3 separate regions of the Homo sapiens genome follow, and all the other regions are linked to region 1. Evidence: promoter capture Hi-C in 16 types of primary human blood cells and fetal thymus (Javierre and others, 2016). All regions are on one chromosome and are shown on one strand. The core of a region is centred on a gene start or on the middle of the fragment in contact, and the rest is flanking DNA. Distances in the headings are between cores, read along the strand shown.

What was found. Contacts are between HindIII fragments. The CHiCAGO score rates a contact against its expected background, and 5 or more counts as called.
Region 2: a fragment that was not itself captured here is called in contact with the fragment with the promoter of TMEM52B in region 1 in 1 of 17 cell types (monocytes); the score reaches 6.8 in monocytes.
Region 3: a contact is called between a fragment that was not itself captured here and the fragment with the promoter of TMEM52B in region 1, in 1 of 17 cell types (neutrophils). The highest score is 5.4, in neutrophils.

What each region holds. Positions count from the first base shown.
Region 1 is chr12:10,176,863-10,181,538 of GRCh38, forward strand. TMEM52B (transmembrane protein 52B) reads left to right here and starts at 2,170. Exons shown (of 5, transcript NM_001384896.1): 1 at 2,170-2,766. The coding sequence starts at 2,713. RefSeq lists an enhancer at 2,528-3,727. The HindIII fragment of the contact is 29,503 bases long and covers 1-4,676 here.
Region 2 is chr12:9,993,109-9,997,784 of GRCh38, forward strand. CLEC1B (C-type lectin domain family 1 member B) reads right to left here. Exons shown (of 6, transcript NM_016509.4): 3 at 4,052-4,171; 4 at 3,738-3,892; 5 at 2,032-2,138; 6 at 1-179. The coding sequence ends at 35. It also overlaps a transcript of CLEC12A not described here. Among named protein-coding and RNA genes, the nearest start is that of CLEC1B, 3.7 kb to the right of the region's middle. The HindIII fragment of the contact is 700 bases long and covers 1,503-2,202 here.
Region 3 is chr12:10,012,851-10,017,526 of GRCh38, forward strand. CLEC12B (C-type lectin domain family 12 member B) reads left to right here. Exons shown (of 6, transcript NM_001129998.3): 2 at 1-33; 3 at 1,673-1,891; 4 at 2,402-2,556; 5 at 2,762-2,877. It overlaps LOC102724020 (a long non-coding RNA gene), which reads right to left. Exons shown (of 4, transcript NR_169587.1): 3 at 3,223-3,298; 4 at 2,036-2,923. Among named protein-coding and RNA genes, the nearest start is that of CLEC12B, 4.6 kb to the left of the region's middle. The HindIII fragment of the contact is 742 bases long and covers 2,166-2,907 here.

The sequences.
Region 1 (4,676 bases), core at 920-3,419:
CAAAACCAAGTATTTAAACCCAGGTATCCTGGCTAGGCTTTAGGTCTTGGTGCTCTACTGTCTTTCTGTCAAGAAAAAGAGAAGGGAAAGTTTCATGATGGGTTCCCTACGTACAGGGCACTCATGATAGAAATATCCTATTCAAAATGCTTTCCTGTCTCTTATTTTATTTTCTCTAGGAAATAACATCTAAAGCAGGTCAAGTGGGTATTCTGCTCCTGTTGTATGAATGGGAACGTTAAGGACTGGAGGAATTACATAATAATTTAGTGGAAGGCCACCTAAAGCCCTGCTCTCCTTGTCCTATAAAATACCTTCCACCTTGCCAAGTCTTCTACTGAAATCTGGAAATCACCCTTCATCCTAACCCCAGTTGCCTAATTTAAAAAAATAAAAAATAAAAGACTGTCAGTGCTCATTTCGTCTTGAAACTGACAGATTTTAAATCACCAGTATGGTACCAGGCCATTTTCTCATTATTTGTTTTCCTTAGCTGAGAACAAAACCAGTTTATATCCTGCATTCTCATATCCCATCATCAAGCTATGTGTGAGGACCCTTAGAGTATGATCAGCTCACCCAAGAGTCTCCCTTCCACAATCACTCAGCATAATTAGATTTACTGAGCTAGAAAGGTCCTGAAAGGAGGTTTTATTCAATTCTTATGAGATAGATATATCACTGTAAACTAACTTCTACTTTTCTTATCCCAGCCTGGCCAATATGGTAAAACCTTGTCTCTACTGAAAATAGAAAAGTTAGCTGGGTGTCGTGGCAGGTGTCTATAATCCCAGCTACTCAGGAGGCTGAGGCAGGAGAATTGCTTGAACCCAGGAGGCAGAGGTTGCAGTGAGCCGAGATTGCACCACTGCCCTCCAGCCTGGTGACAGAGAGACTCTGTCTCAAATAATAATAATAATAATAATAATAATAATAATAATAATAATAATAATTTTTTTATTAAACATTTGGTATTAAGTAAAAGATCACCTACTTAAGTATAAATCATTCATACAGCATTCTTTTGTTTCTTTTAATATTTTGCTTTTTTGAGGCAGATTCTCGCTCTATCACCCAGGCTGGAGTGCAGTGGTGTGATCTCGGCTCACTGCAACTTCTGCCTTCCGGGTTCAAGTGGCCCTCCTGCTTCAGCCTCCCAAGTAGTTGGGATTACAGGTGCCTGCCATGACACACAGCTAATTTTTGTATGTTTCGTAGAGAAAGGGTTTCATCATGTTCTCCAGGCTGGTCTCAAACTCCTGGCCGAAGTTATCAGCCCGCCTTGGCCTCCCAAAGTGCTGGGATTACAGGCATGAGCCATGGCACCCGGCCACATTTGTGTCTATAGCTTTGTTTCATTGTAAGTATTCTAGGCCAGGCACGGTGGCTCACGCCTGTAATCCCAGCACTTTGGGAGGCCGAGTCGGGCGGATCATGAGGTCAGGAGATCGAGACCATTCTGGTTAACATGGTGAAACCCCGTCTCGTCTCTACTAAAAATACAAAAAAACTTAGCCGGGCGTGGTGGTGGGCGCCAGTATTCCCAGCTACTCGGGAGGCTGAGGCAGGAGAATGGCATGAACCCAGGAGGCAGAGTTTGCAGTGAGCCGAGATTGCGCCACTGCACTCCAGCCTGGGTGACAGAGCAAGACTCCGTCTCAAAAAAAAAAAAAAAAAAAGTATTCTATGCTTTTGCATGTGTGCTTGTTTTTACTCTAACCTTAGGTTTTATTTTCCTGAGTGACAAGACTTATTTCTCAATCACATCACTCCTTAACCAAAGAGAGAGAGAGAGAGAGAAAGAGAGAGAAAGAAGGAACAAAGAAAAGGCAAGAAAGAAAGAAACCTATACATTTGCTTTTTTAAAATTTGGTTTTAAAAAAATGTCTTTCTCAGTTATCTATTTCAATGGGAAGTGAAGTCAGGGAGGAGGAAGATGTCACTGATAACACCTGAAAATTCTAATCTTCCGACTTGATTTCTCATCTTCAAGTCTGTTTTCTCCAAAGATGAGATGGCTTTCCTGTTCACTTGGCAACCTCTCAGTCTTACCCCAATGCTTAGGGATATAAATGACCCAGAACCAGGAGAGTTGATTATCAACATAGTGAAGGGGAGGGTTTCAAAGAGCAAGAAGGGGTTGTTAGTCACACGGAGAGAGAAGAAAGGAGATTAGCAGGGTGACTTTCACCCTGCAACAGTCACGCTGGAGTACTCTGGTGAAGGATCAAGAATATTACCAGTTTTCTGATGAAGAAAGGAATATATTTGGTCACCAGCAATCTGCCTTTGACCATCCTCAAAGCCAAGTTTTTCATCGCTGTCTAGAAAAATACTTCATTCAGAGGACACATATGTCCTCTTTGAATGTCTCCTTTTTGGGAGCAGTAGGAGAAAGAAACTTCAAGATGTAGAAAGAATTAATAGTGTAACGGAAAGAAAGAAGGCAAAAGGAAGTAAATGTGGAGGCCATAGAAATAGTAATAAGAATAAAGAAGAAAAACAGGAAAGAAGAGGGAAAAGCCATAGAAAATAACAGCCAGAGCGAGTAGGAGGAGACAGAGAGAACGAGAGAGAGAAAAGCTGATAAATTCCTGAGAAAAGTTTCTCTTCTTAAGAATTCTAGGTCAAGAAGTAAAATATGGCACAGAGCATTGAAAGGAGGCAACGGATGCCCAGTGCAAGATTCTGAAGAAGCAGGAATTCAGCCCGATGGGAGTCCGAGTTCATGTCGTGGCGGCCTCAGCCCTGCTGTATTTCATCCTGGTGAGTTCAGTGGTGAAAAGGCAGAAAGAGTATTTTTCCCCAGATTAATCAACTCTCAGAAGAGTCTGAAAGGAAATGAACTGCGGGGTGGGGAGACATATACAGAACCCAGGGGGTCATAGGGAAATGAATAAACTACAAAGTTTCCTTAGTATTACGAGATTGCATAGATGCATGTGTGACTGATGGCAATGACAATGAAAAGGGGGACAGAAATTAGAGTGAGCATGGAAACGAGCAGGATTGCCGTGGCACTTTAGAAGTGCCGCTGAAGTATTTTATCTCTTTTAGCATCTTATCACCCATCCCTCAAAATTCCAAACAAATTATGAAAACTAGGTGTGTAATTCCCCTAAACGGAATTTCCCATCCAGGAATTTCTAATCCTGTTCTAGCAGTTTAGGTGCCTCTAGTCTAGAAATAAGAGAGGCAGGGCTCTTTTAAAATATTTTGGGCCCCACAATGAATCAGAAGTCTCTGAGTAATCCATTAGTGGAGAAAAGGGTCACTGGACTGAGGGATTCTAAACAATTGTCACAGGGAAGTTTATAGAGCTATGCCATCTAGCAAGAAGGAGAGCAAATGAAGAAAACTGGATAGTCTCAGATTCCCGTATGGCCCCCGTACAGAGTGGGCTGTATGGTTTGTTTTTTTTTTTTTTTTGCTAATAGAACAGTTAAAGTGGTATCTGAAAATCCATTTTTTCTTATATTTTCTTTTTGCTTCCTCTTCACTCCCTTTGCCTTGTCTTCCCTTCATTTTTCCTTTCTTTTCTCTTTGCAACAAGCCTGAAAAGTAGCATTTTCTCTGCTGAGCACTTTAGGCTTCTCTTACCTTTAGTGAAGAAAGTGAAAGAAAGTACCATGGTTGCGTAGAGGAAACACACGCTTTTTCATCGTTAGTGGCCATTTCTTTCCAATGAAAACACAAACACGGGTTTCTCAAATGTTACCTGCAAAGGCTGGCCATTAATCCTTTTACAGATCCTTTCCAACTGATAGGTCTTGAGAATGTGTGTCTCCTTACCCCTTCACTACCCGCCATAAACTCCCAATAGTTACAAATCTGTTTCTTTTCTAGGGCCTTTGTGGTTGCTTTCCTGAAATATCAGATCACTCAGGTTATTAGAAGACAGAAGCAACTTCTAGAATTGAGTTTACTTAAATGGTTTGTTGTTGTTGTTGTTGTTGTTTTTAAACGGAGTTTTGCCCTTGTTACCCAGGCTGGAGTGCAGTGGCACGATCTTGGCTGACTGCAACCTCCGCCTCCTGGGTTCAAGCGATTCTCTTGCCTCAGCCTCCCAAGTAGCAGGGATTGCAGGCATGCACCACCACGCCTGGCTAATTTTGTATTTTTTTAGTAGAGATGGGGTTTCACCATGTTGGTCAGGCTGATCTCGAACTCCTGACCTCAAGTGATCCACCCACCTCGGCCTCCCAAAGTGGTGGGATTGCAGGTGTGAGCCACTGCACCCAGCCTTGAATGGGTTTTTGAAAGAGGAAGTCAACTAAAAAATCAGGTAGAAGAAAGAGTGGACAGTTTTGTTTGTTTTTTTGTTTTCTGTAAAGGGAGTAGAAGGGACTTCATAGCAATGTCAAGGAATTGTTAGAGCAAACTTGTCCCCAGTGCTATTAATTCATCCAACACATATCTATGATAGAGTTTGATTTGAATTCTGTCTGCATCAATAGGTGTGTACATTTGGTCACTTTTTTTTTTTTCCAAGATGGAGTCTTGCTCGCCTAGGCTGGAGTGCAGTGGCATGATCTCGGCTCACTGCAACCTCCACTGCCCGGGTTTAAGCAATTCTCCTGCCTCAACCTCCAGAGTAGCTGGGATTACAGGCGCACATCACCACGCCGGGCTAATTTTTGTATTTTTCGTAGAGACGGGATTTCACCATGTTGGCC
Region 2 (4,676 bases), core at 603-3,102, 180 kb before region 1:
CCCTTATCTGTGTTATCCTGTCCACCTCTTTGCATTAAGGTAGTTGGTCCACCTTGGTCATGCCAGCCTTCCTCTCACACATTAAATAATGTTTGTTCTCACAGAAGGTAGGGTGCATTTTCCCATTATGAAAATAAGCACAATTCATATTTCCTTTTCCATCTTCCAAAAACTCAAACCTGTGAAGGGAAAGTTAGAATAAATTCCTTTGAAAACTGAGCAAACAATCAGTAATCAGACTCTGCGTATAGTAGTTTGATGCACCAAATAGAGACTGAGGAAAATAGGAAAAAAAAACAAAAAAAAAAACGATTCTCATTGTTGAGAAAGTTCCACCCTGCTTGGCAGTACAAGATATGCATATTTAAAAAGCCCAATATCAATTTCATTTAGCATAAAATTAGGAGCAAGGGAACAGTAGGTACAATAGGAGCCCTGAAGAAGTGATGGAGATGGCTCCAAAATAATGGGAAAACGCATTATCTACAAGATCAGACTTTAGTTCGGTATTGATGGAAGGTCAGGACTCAGATGAACTGACAGGAGATGGAAGAGCCCTACAGGACAAGTAGCTGCACTAGATGGGAATACGCTCATGGAAAAGTGAGTTGATTCAGTAGTTTTGAAATCAGGATTTATGTTGCAAGATAAATCATCTAACACAGCAGGCTGTATTGTAATTGTCTGTTAAGTTATATTTCTTTCTTTCTAAACTGCTTATAATGAGATGACAAGGAATATATACTTATTGGTTTATTTGGAGAATACCTGCAGAACTATGTGACAAAGTTGTTCTATGTGCTGAGGATACACTGATAAAGAAAGACAAGAAAGCTAATGTCTTTCTTGTTGGGGAACTTTCATTTAAGTGGGGCGATACCGGTAAGAAGCCCACAAAAAATAGACAAGAAAAATTGAGACAGTGGTAAGAGTTACAAAGAAACAAAACAGTGGTGGACTGTATGGATATGGGTTTAAGGGAGGCTAATTTAGTTTGGGTAGAGTTAGGTTCACTGAAGAAGTGATGTTTAAATAGAGACTTGAGTCTCAGTGGAGAGATGGTCATGGAGTTGTGGAGGCAGAGCATTCTAGAAGAAAATAGCAAGACAAAAGCCTTAAGGTAACAAAACGAGTTTGATTTGTTGGAAGAATGTAAAGAACACTAAGTTGCCTGCAATATTGTAAATGAGGCAGCAAGCAATAGGAGATAGGAGATAAAGCCCAAGGTCTGTGAAGAGGCTTGCTTGTAGTTGTAGTATCCTAAGATCCTATCTATAGTAAATACTTAATAAATATTTGTTTAAAAATTTAATTCATAATTTGAGTAATAATCAGATTATATAAGTTTTGGTTATCAGTTTAAATTTTAATTGAAGAGAGACTGCAGTTTTGATATACAGGATGAACAAAAGATGTTGAGACTGCAGATTGGAAAGCCATATAGGAAGCAACTCCACTCAATGCAATCAGTCCCTTTGCCTGGATTGTTTGTAGAAGGACAAAGCTTCGTTAATGGACATTGGAATTATCTTGTGAAATACAATGTATCGAATTCTTGGAGACTCCCAGAATAGAGGAATAGGCAAAACAATATTGAAAACTCAAAAGGACTCTCAAGATAACAACTTTCAACTGTAAAATAATGATATGAAATTTTGTTTTAAAAATATGTGAAGATAATCAGAACAAGCAAAACACAAAAACACACACACATGTGCATGCGCGCACACACACACACACACTCACACATACACATACATGCACACAGTGTTCCATGGTAAGGTTGAATGTAAAAATGAATGGGAATAATATCAGAGATAAAGGTGGATTGTGGCTTAGATAAAGAGCAAAGTAATGGGAGAGAGGGGAAAGAATTGTCTTATGACCAGCGCTGTCTTGTTTGAATTAGCAGGTAAGTGACCCAGCTGCTGCTTCTATAACCCATAGTAGTGACTTGGACTGAGAGAAGAGGGAATCTCAAGAATAAGAGTTTCCAGTACTCCCTCCTATTCTAAGTGTCCAGTGACTTACATATTTTCTGAGATAACCGAGCCATCCTCCCACTTCCAGACCTCATTCGACTTCTGGCGAGATAATCCGACCCAACGAATTAAATGAGTCCTGGCTTTGATGTACTCCTATTGTAAACATAAATAAACACAATGGTCAGAATCCCTCCACAGCTCTTGGTATGATAGACAAAGCTTCATGATAAGACGTTGGACAAAAAATGTTGGATTACATGTCTATATTAGTATTAATGGATTACATTTGATGTTTGAAATTGTACCAATTTGACTTGTCTGAGAACTTAAAAAAAACTTATAGGACACAGGTAAAATTGTACACAAAATAGCTGATATTCTAATCTTCTTTTGTGTTTATAACATGTATTTAGATCTTCAACCAGTTGAGGATTATACTCCCAAATAGAATACCAAATATGATTCAAAGGAATAAATGTAAACAGAGAAAGGAAATACAAAGAAATACATTGTTGATGAGCTGTATATTCCTTAGAGTTAAAGCCCTACCTGCTTTGGTTTTATTGCTCAGCTTGCCTATAAAATCTTACATATGGAAGTATTAACTTGTTGTAGTTAATTGGATAAAGGCATTTATGATGTCTTTCTCAAAAGGATTTATAAATAACGTACATCTACCTTTCCCTATTTACTTTCTTCTAATTAGCAATTATCACTATCTACTAAACTATATACTATATCATTTGCTTTGTTTCTTGGCTGTTGCTTTAACTAGAATATACTCTTGTCGAGGTTAAGCATTTTTCTTTCTGTCTTACTAACTGCATAGGTCCAAATTCTGGAATAGTTTCAGCACATAGTTGCTGAATTAATGAAGGAATAAGTGAATCAATCAATCTATGGGTAACAAAATTATGTGAAGGCCAAATGCTTATATATTCTGAGACCTCCCAGAATAACAAGTGATAATGCATTCTTGGTAAATAAAAAATGACTTGAGCTTCTTGACAGATATGTGAGACTCAAAATGGCATTCCACAGGAGATATTGTGTGAAAGTCACATGTGACTGTTTATTTCTTAAAGCTTGAGCCACCGGGAACCTTTCTGTTATATCCTAATATTTTCTTTAAAATATATCAATATTATATACTTCCCAATAGGAACTGACAGATAAATTCTACCTGAAATCCAACTATACAATTTCTTTTTCTGAAAAAGTTGCATGACTACTTTTAGTTATAAATCTTCAACCTGGCATCTGCCTAGACTAATACAAATTAAGGATATGCATATATGTCTCGAATTAATCTCTATATAATAGAGCTGAGATTTTAGAAAACTATCTTATTTTGCTGGAGTGGAAAGAAAAGCTAATTTATGTAACTGGATATCTTCCGTATGCGTCTGAGTCCACAGAAACAGTAAGTGGACAGCACAGCAAGTTAGAACAACAGAGGACACAAATAAATATGAACATCACTGGGCTGACTCTTCATGTGTGACCCACTATGTACCTGAGCTGTCAGGAAGGGACAAGTCAATTTGACTGATCAACTCTATCAGTGTTGTAGAATATTATGAGTGGATTGAATATCTGGGTTCTGTAATTCTTACTAGGTTTCACAAGGGTCTTAGATTAGTACAAACTGAAAGATGTTAAGAAAAATGTAAAAAACAAAAAAAGGTCAAGTGTTACATTTGAGGTTTCTCTTCCTTGCCTCCAAAATATTTGACATAAGAATCTTCTTACCACAATGTTCCGGTTGTCAATCTTCAGGAGAGTAGCATTCATGTCAGTGCAGTACTGCTTACTCTCTTCCCATGTTAAGTTGTGCCTGAAGAACCCATAGCAGCTATCTCCATAATATCTCCAGTTTGTGTCACAGGGGCTGCATTTATGACCTTCTGGAGAAACCAAGCACAGGAATGGTGTATTTTTTCTAAATTGGGCTTACATTTTCTTCACATTCAATGTTTTCTGCAGATCTCAAACTCCCTTCAGTTGCCATCAGAGAAATGCTCCAGGGGTTGGAGAGATGAAGAGGTTAAAAAAACAATACTTACTGAAAGTGCCCTTTAGTTCTGATTGTTTTACCACATATTGACAGAAGCGCTTTGCTAATTGTTGCAGAGTTCCTGTGCGATTTTCATTCTCACCTTGTAGGTAATTGCGCTGCATGACAGCTAGGTTTAAAAAGTAAATAATAATAATTTGTAATTAGAACCATAGAAATGATGCAAAGGTCTGTCATTGAATTTTCATTTCCTTAACTTTGCCAATATATGAGGAGTTTACTAGATACACATGATTAAATGAATGTTGAAAAGTGTGGAGGGGCTATAAAGAACAAATTAAGAAATACACAGAACTGACGCCTGAGGGTTAATAAGTGAACTGTTTGAAGGAGACAATCACAAATAAAAAATCCCAACATCGATAACATCCCCAGAGCCTGTATTCATTTGCTTGAATACAAGCTTCTCAGCTGAGTTATAGAGGTGAATGACCTCTTATTTTCTGTTCTTTCTGTGATGCCAAACTATTCATTCATTTAAAAATACATACTGATTTCTTGTTATGCTTAAAGTACTTGTGATATTCAGGTAAATAATAAAGAAATACAAGAGGATAAATGTTAGATTCTAACATCTTTTAAAAAAATCAACAAATACACAAACAAGCAACAAC
Region 3 (4,676 bases), core at 1,287-3,786, 160 kb before region 1:
TGCTGATTGGGCTGGTGACATTGGGGATGATGTGTAAGTATATCAGCATCAAACCCAACAAAGGCAACTAGAAAACATATTGTAAACCATGTACTTTCAGCTTGGATTGTAGATGGGTCCTAGCATCCTGAATCGTCTGATACTTTTCTGCTGTCTCATATCTCTCCTATTCGTCATATCTTCCCAAAAAACCGGCAAAAGACATTATCAGGATTTGGTTCTAAATTCATTGTTTTATCTTGATAAGCTAAACTGGACTTAGACAAAGACTCTTTGTTTCCAGTTATTCATTAGAATAAAGAGCCTCTTTTCTGCCTAGACACACATTCACTTATCATTCCAATGCTGAGAAATAAAGTCAAGAAATATGTATTGAAGGAAGTGCTTGCTATTTTTATTTACCTGAAAGACTTAACACTAGACTAGGTTCAGTCTGCTTACATGAAACTTCTCTAGTGGAGAGAAATCTTCCAAGTAGCAGCAGCAGCCTGATTTCTATGAATGAGAAAGACATATAAACAAAGAGGAAGAGTGGCCTGATACACCTTACCAAGTAAGAGAGTTGAACCATCTCCACATGACAATGGAAGCTCCACTCTCAAGCACCACAGCCACAAAGGAACATTCTATTGATTCTGACCCATCCTCGGGAAGTTGGGGATGAACATGGTAGGGAGTTCTTGAGTAATGAGAAAAACATCCTGAGAATACAAACTTTATAGGGTTGTTAAGTATATGGTATACAGAGTAGTGAATTGGCATGGTATTCGCTTACAGGGAACTCACAGTCAAGAAAGTTAATTTGCTGAATGATACTAACATCTCCTCTGCTACATTCATTTCTTTTTAATGATTTAATGGATAATTTTTTAGGATTTAATGGTTAATTAGGATTTGGACATATCTTTGCCAACATAAAAAGAGACTAATGATGTACCTTGCTCTTTTGAAAAGGAATATGATGTTCAAGCAGCAGTAACAGATATTCTGGAGCCAATCAGTATGAGGATTAGCAGCCGATCTTCTACAATAATGTATATTTAAAAATTAAGTGAAAATGCAATAACGTACGTCCATTGGTTCGATATAGAAGGGTGACATTTCTTTTCTAAAATTTAGTGCTTTTGGTGCAGTGGTTCTTAAATTTGTTGTGCTGATGAAGCACCTTAAATGCTTATGAAAAGGGCATATTTCATGGACCCATGACGAGAAATGGTCTGATATGCCATTAAGATCTGCTTTTTCTTTTCTTTTGGTAAACAAGCATCTCAGGTCATCTGCAGAGTTTGAGATATCCATTGTCCCAAAGAATGCTGTTTTCATTAAAACAACAATTACATCATCTATCTCCAAATAAAATAAAACAAAAATAAAACAATTTCATGAAAATGAGTGGCAGAATGACTGGCCCTTCCTTAGATGTGATGTCAGAAATATATCATTATTAAATCATTATTTTAATATAGTGCAATAATAAAAATGTAAATAAAATTATAAAGAACTATAAATAATTTGGAATAGAAAGGCATCTGGTTTGTTTCTTTCATGATACCTCAAATACTAAGAGCTACTAATAAATCTTGAACAATTAAGAAATGTTTCTGTCACGAGAATTATCTACAGTTATAAGAATAGAAGAATATATGAACTTGTCTCCTGTCATGTCTTGGAGTTTTGCAGATATCTAATGACATTAACTCAGATTCAGAGAAATTGAGTCAACTTCAGAAAACCATCCAACAGCAGCAGGATAACTTATCCCAGCAACTGGGCAACTCCAACAACTTGTCCATGGAGGAGGAATTTCTCAAGTCACAGATCTCCAGTGTACTGAAGAGGCAGGAACAAATGGCCATCAAACTGTGCCAAGAGCTAATCATTCATACTTCAGGTAATCAGACTTAGTCCTGCTGACCAGTCAGATGGCATATGTTATCCTGGTCTAAGTTGATCACATGTACCACCTAAGAGTATTGAGAGAGTTATGTCATCCAGTGAACCTTAATGATGTTGCACTAAATTTACACACAGCAAGGAAATATACAAATTCATTTAATATTTTTGAAACCACAGGCAAATTTGGGAAGTATCTTGGAATGATATCAATCTGGATACTTCAACCCCTCATTTTATTAACTATTTCTAGGTGATCATGTTGCTCTGAAAGCTTAAAGGCATAGCTGGTAATTCTGAGGTCAGAAGACTAAGCCATGAAAAGAGAATCCCTGTTGCCCCAACCCATAACCAGGGGTCACTTTTTTTTCAGAGGCTTCTAAAGCAGTATGCTTTCAGGGTGCAGGCTCTCAGTCCCTATTGTTCAATTACATGATTTTGTTTCAAAGCCTTCTCCAGTCACTCTAGAGTCTTCAGTTTATATTATTGGGTATAATTTCCTTTTCAGACCACAGATGTAATCCATGTCCTAAGATGTGGCAATGGTACCAAAATAGTTGCTACTATTTTACAACAAATGAGGAGAAAACCTGGGCTAACAGTAGAAAGGACTGCATAGACAAGAACTCCACCCTAGTGAAGATAGACAGTTTGGAAGAAAAGGTAGGATTGAGTCTCATTCTCTAGTTATAGACATTATCCATACAATGAGAGAGAAATAAATAAAACATCTGATTCACATGATGGAAATTCAGTGCATCTTGAATTAGAATTAATACATGAATTTAATGAATGTCCTCATCTATCTTAACTCTGCAAACTGGAATGTGGCGCTCACGTAAAACTTTTTCTCTGTTTTCTCTCTTAGGATTTTCTTATGTCACAGCCATTACTCATGTTTTCGTTCTTTTGGCTGGGATTATCATGGGACTCCTCTGGCAGAAGTTGGTTCTGGGAAGATGGCTCTGTTCCCTCTCCATCCTTGTACGTCTCTAACTATTGAGGGTAAACACAAGCTTTCCATGGAATCCTGGGAAAATTAATAATGATTGTGAGAATTATAAATACAGACATAAAAAGAGGAGTACAACATACTGAGAAAAGAGCTCCAGTAACAAATATTGAAAGGAGGTATAGTTCATTTCATCTCTGTGACAAATTTATAGCAAGGCACTGAATTTTATCTTTTGGTAGAAATGTGTTTATTTAACACACACACACACCTAATACTACATTCAAAGTATTTTATAAATACTAACCCTTGAAGAAAGCAGTTATATTCCCATTTTATAGGTAGAAATATTATAATAGAGAGATTAAGTAACTTGCCTGAGGTCACTCAGCTCATAAATTGCACTTTAGGGATTGTGCACTCAGTCACTCAGCTATTCTGACTCTCCAGCACCTACAATCCAAAAGGGTGCTGCTGGTCATAAGAACACATATCAACACATTTATTTATACTAAATAACTGTCAACCATTTTCTAACAAAAAGTAAGACTGAATTGACTGATTAGTTCAACAATTAGTGTCATGTTGAGGACTTGCCAATTACAATATACGGCAAGTGTCTTTTATGAATTAAAATGAACTAAACCTTCCACTTCAGGGTTTGGATGAAACTATTTAAAGGACAAATAGAATATATAACACTTGGAAAATTTCAATTTTTTTAACTATTTAAAGTTATGAAAAAATAGACGTCAACAAAAATGTGTAAGGGGATATTAGGTTTGCTAAATTCTTTCACAGACTATAAAACAAAAAATTTTGAGGAACACCTCTCATCATAACTACATTTAAATGAAACAACTGTATTAATATTTTAAATATAATAGTATTTTTCTATTAGATAAAATTTAAGATCTTTGGCATCTTAATGGATTTTTAAACTTTTTATTGATACATAAGAGATGTATATGTTTTGGGGTATATGTGATAATTTGATACATTCAGATAGTGTGTAAAGATCAAATAAGTGGAATTGGGATATCGATCACTTTAAATATTTATCTTTTCTTTATGCTAGGAGCATTCAAATTATTATTTTCTCATTATTGTGAAATGTACAGTAGATTATTGTTAATTGTATTCACCCTAATAATCTATGAAACACTAGGTCTTACTTCTTCTATCTAACAGAATATTTGTATTCATAATGGCTTTTTATCTACCTTCCTCCCCCAACAAATCATTATCCACCCCCCTCCCTCCTGTTTCACTCTTTAAAGCATGTTGTCAACGTTTTCTTAAACTGAATAATAATCACTCATCTTCTGTCAAAGATGCCATGCTTCAGCTGTGACTCAGCAGTTCCTTAAATCACAAACAATGGTAGGTCTATTATTTTCTCCCTGGATACACTTTATCTTCATCCATTTCCCAATGTTTTGTCATGGCTATTTCTACTCAAACACTAATCCCCCATTCTCTAATCACCATTATTAATCATATCAAGTCAATTAGTTTGGTTTCACACTAATAATAATGACAAAAAGCACATGCAGAGTAATACACAAACAAAAAAAGTGACAGTTACTTTTTTGTGACAAGAGCAATATTGGGTATGAACTGATTAATATTAATCTGAGGTGTTGCTACTAGACTGAGGGTTTCCAGGAGTAGTACTATGACATCATGTAAACACATTCAGTTTTCATGTTGGAATCTAAGATGTGTCCCTTCTCCCAAAGGGATTTTAATCATTCTTGGCCTCTCTACTCACTCTTAATCAAAGTGTGGAGGAGGTGGCCCCCACAGCAGGGTTTGGAACCTACAGACC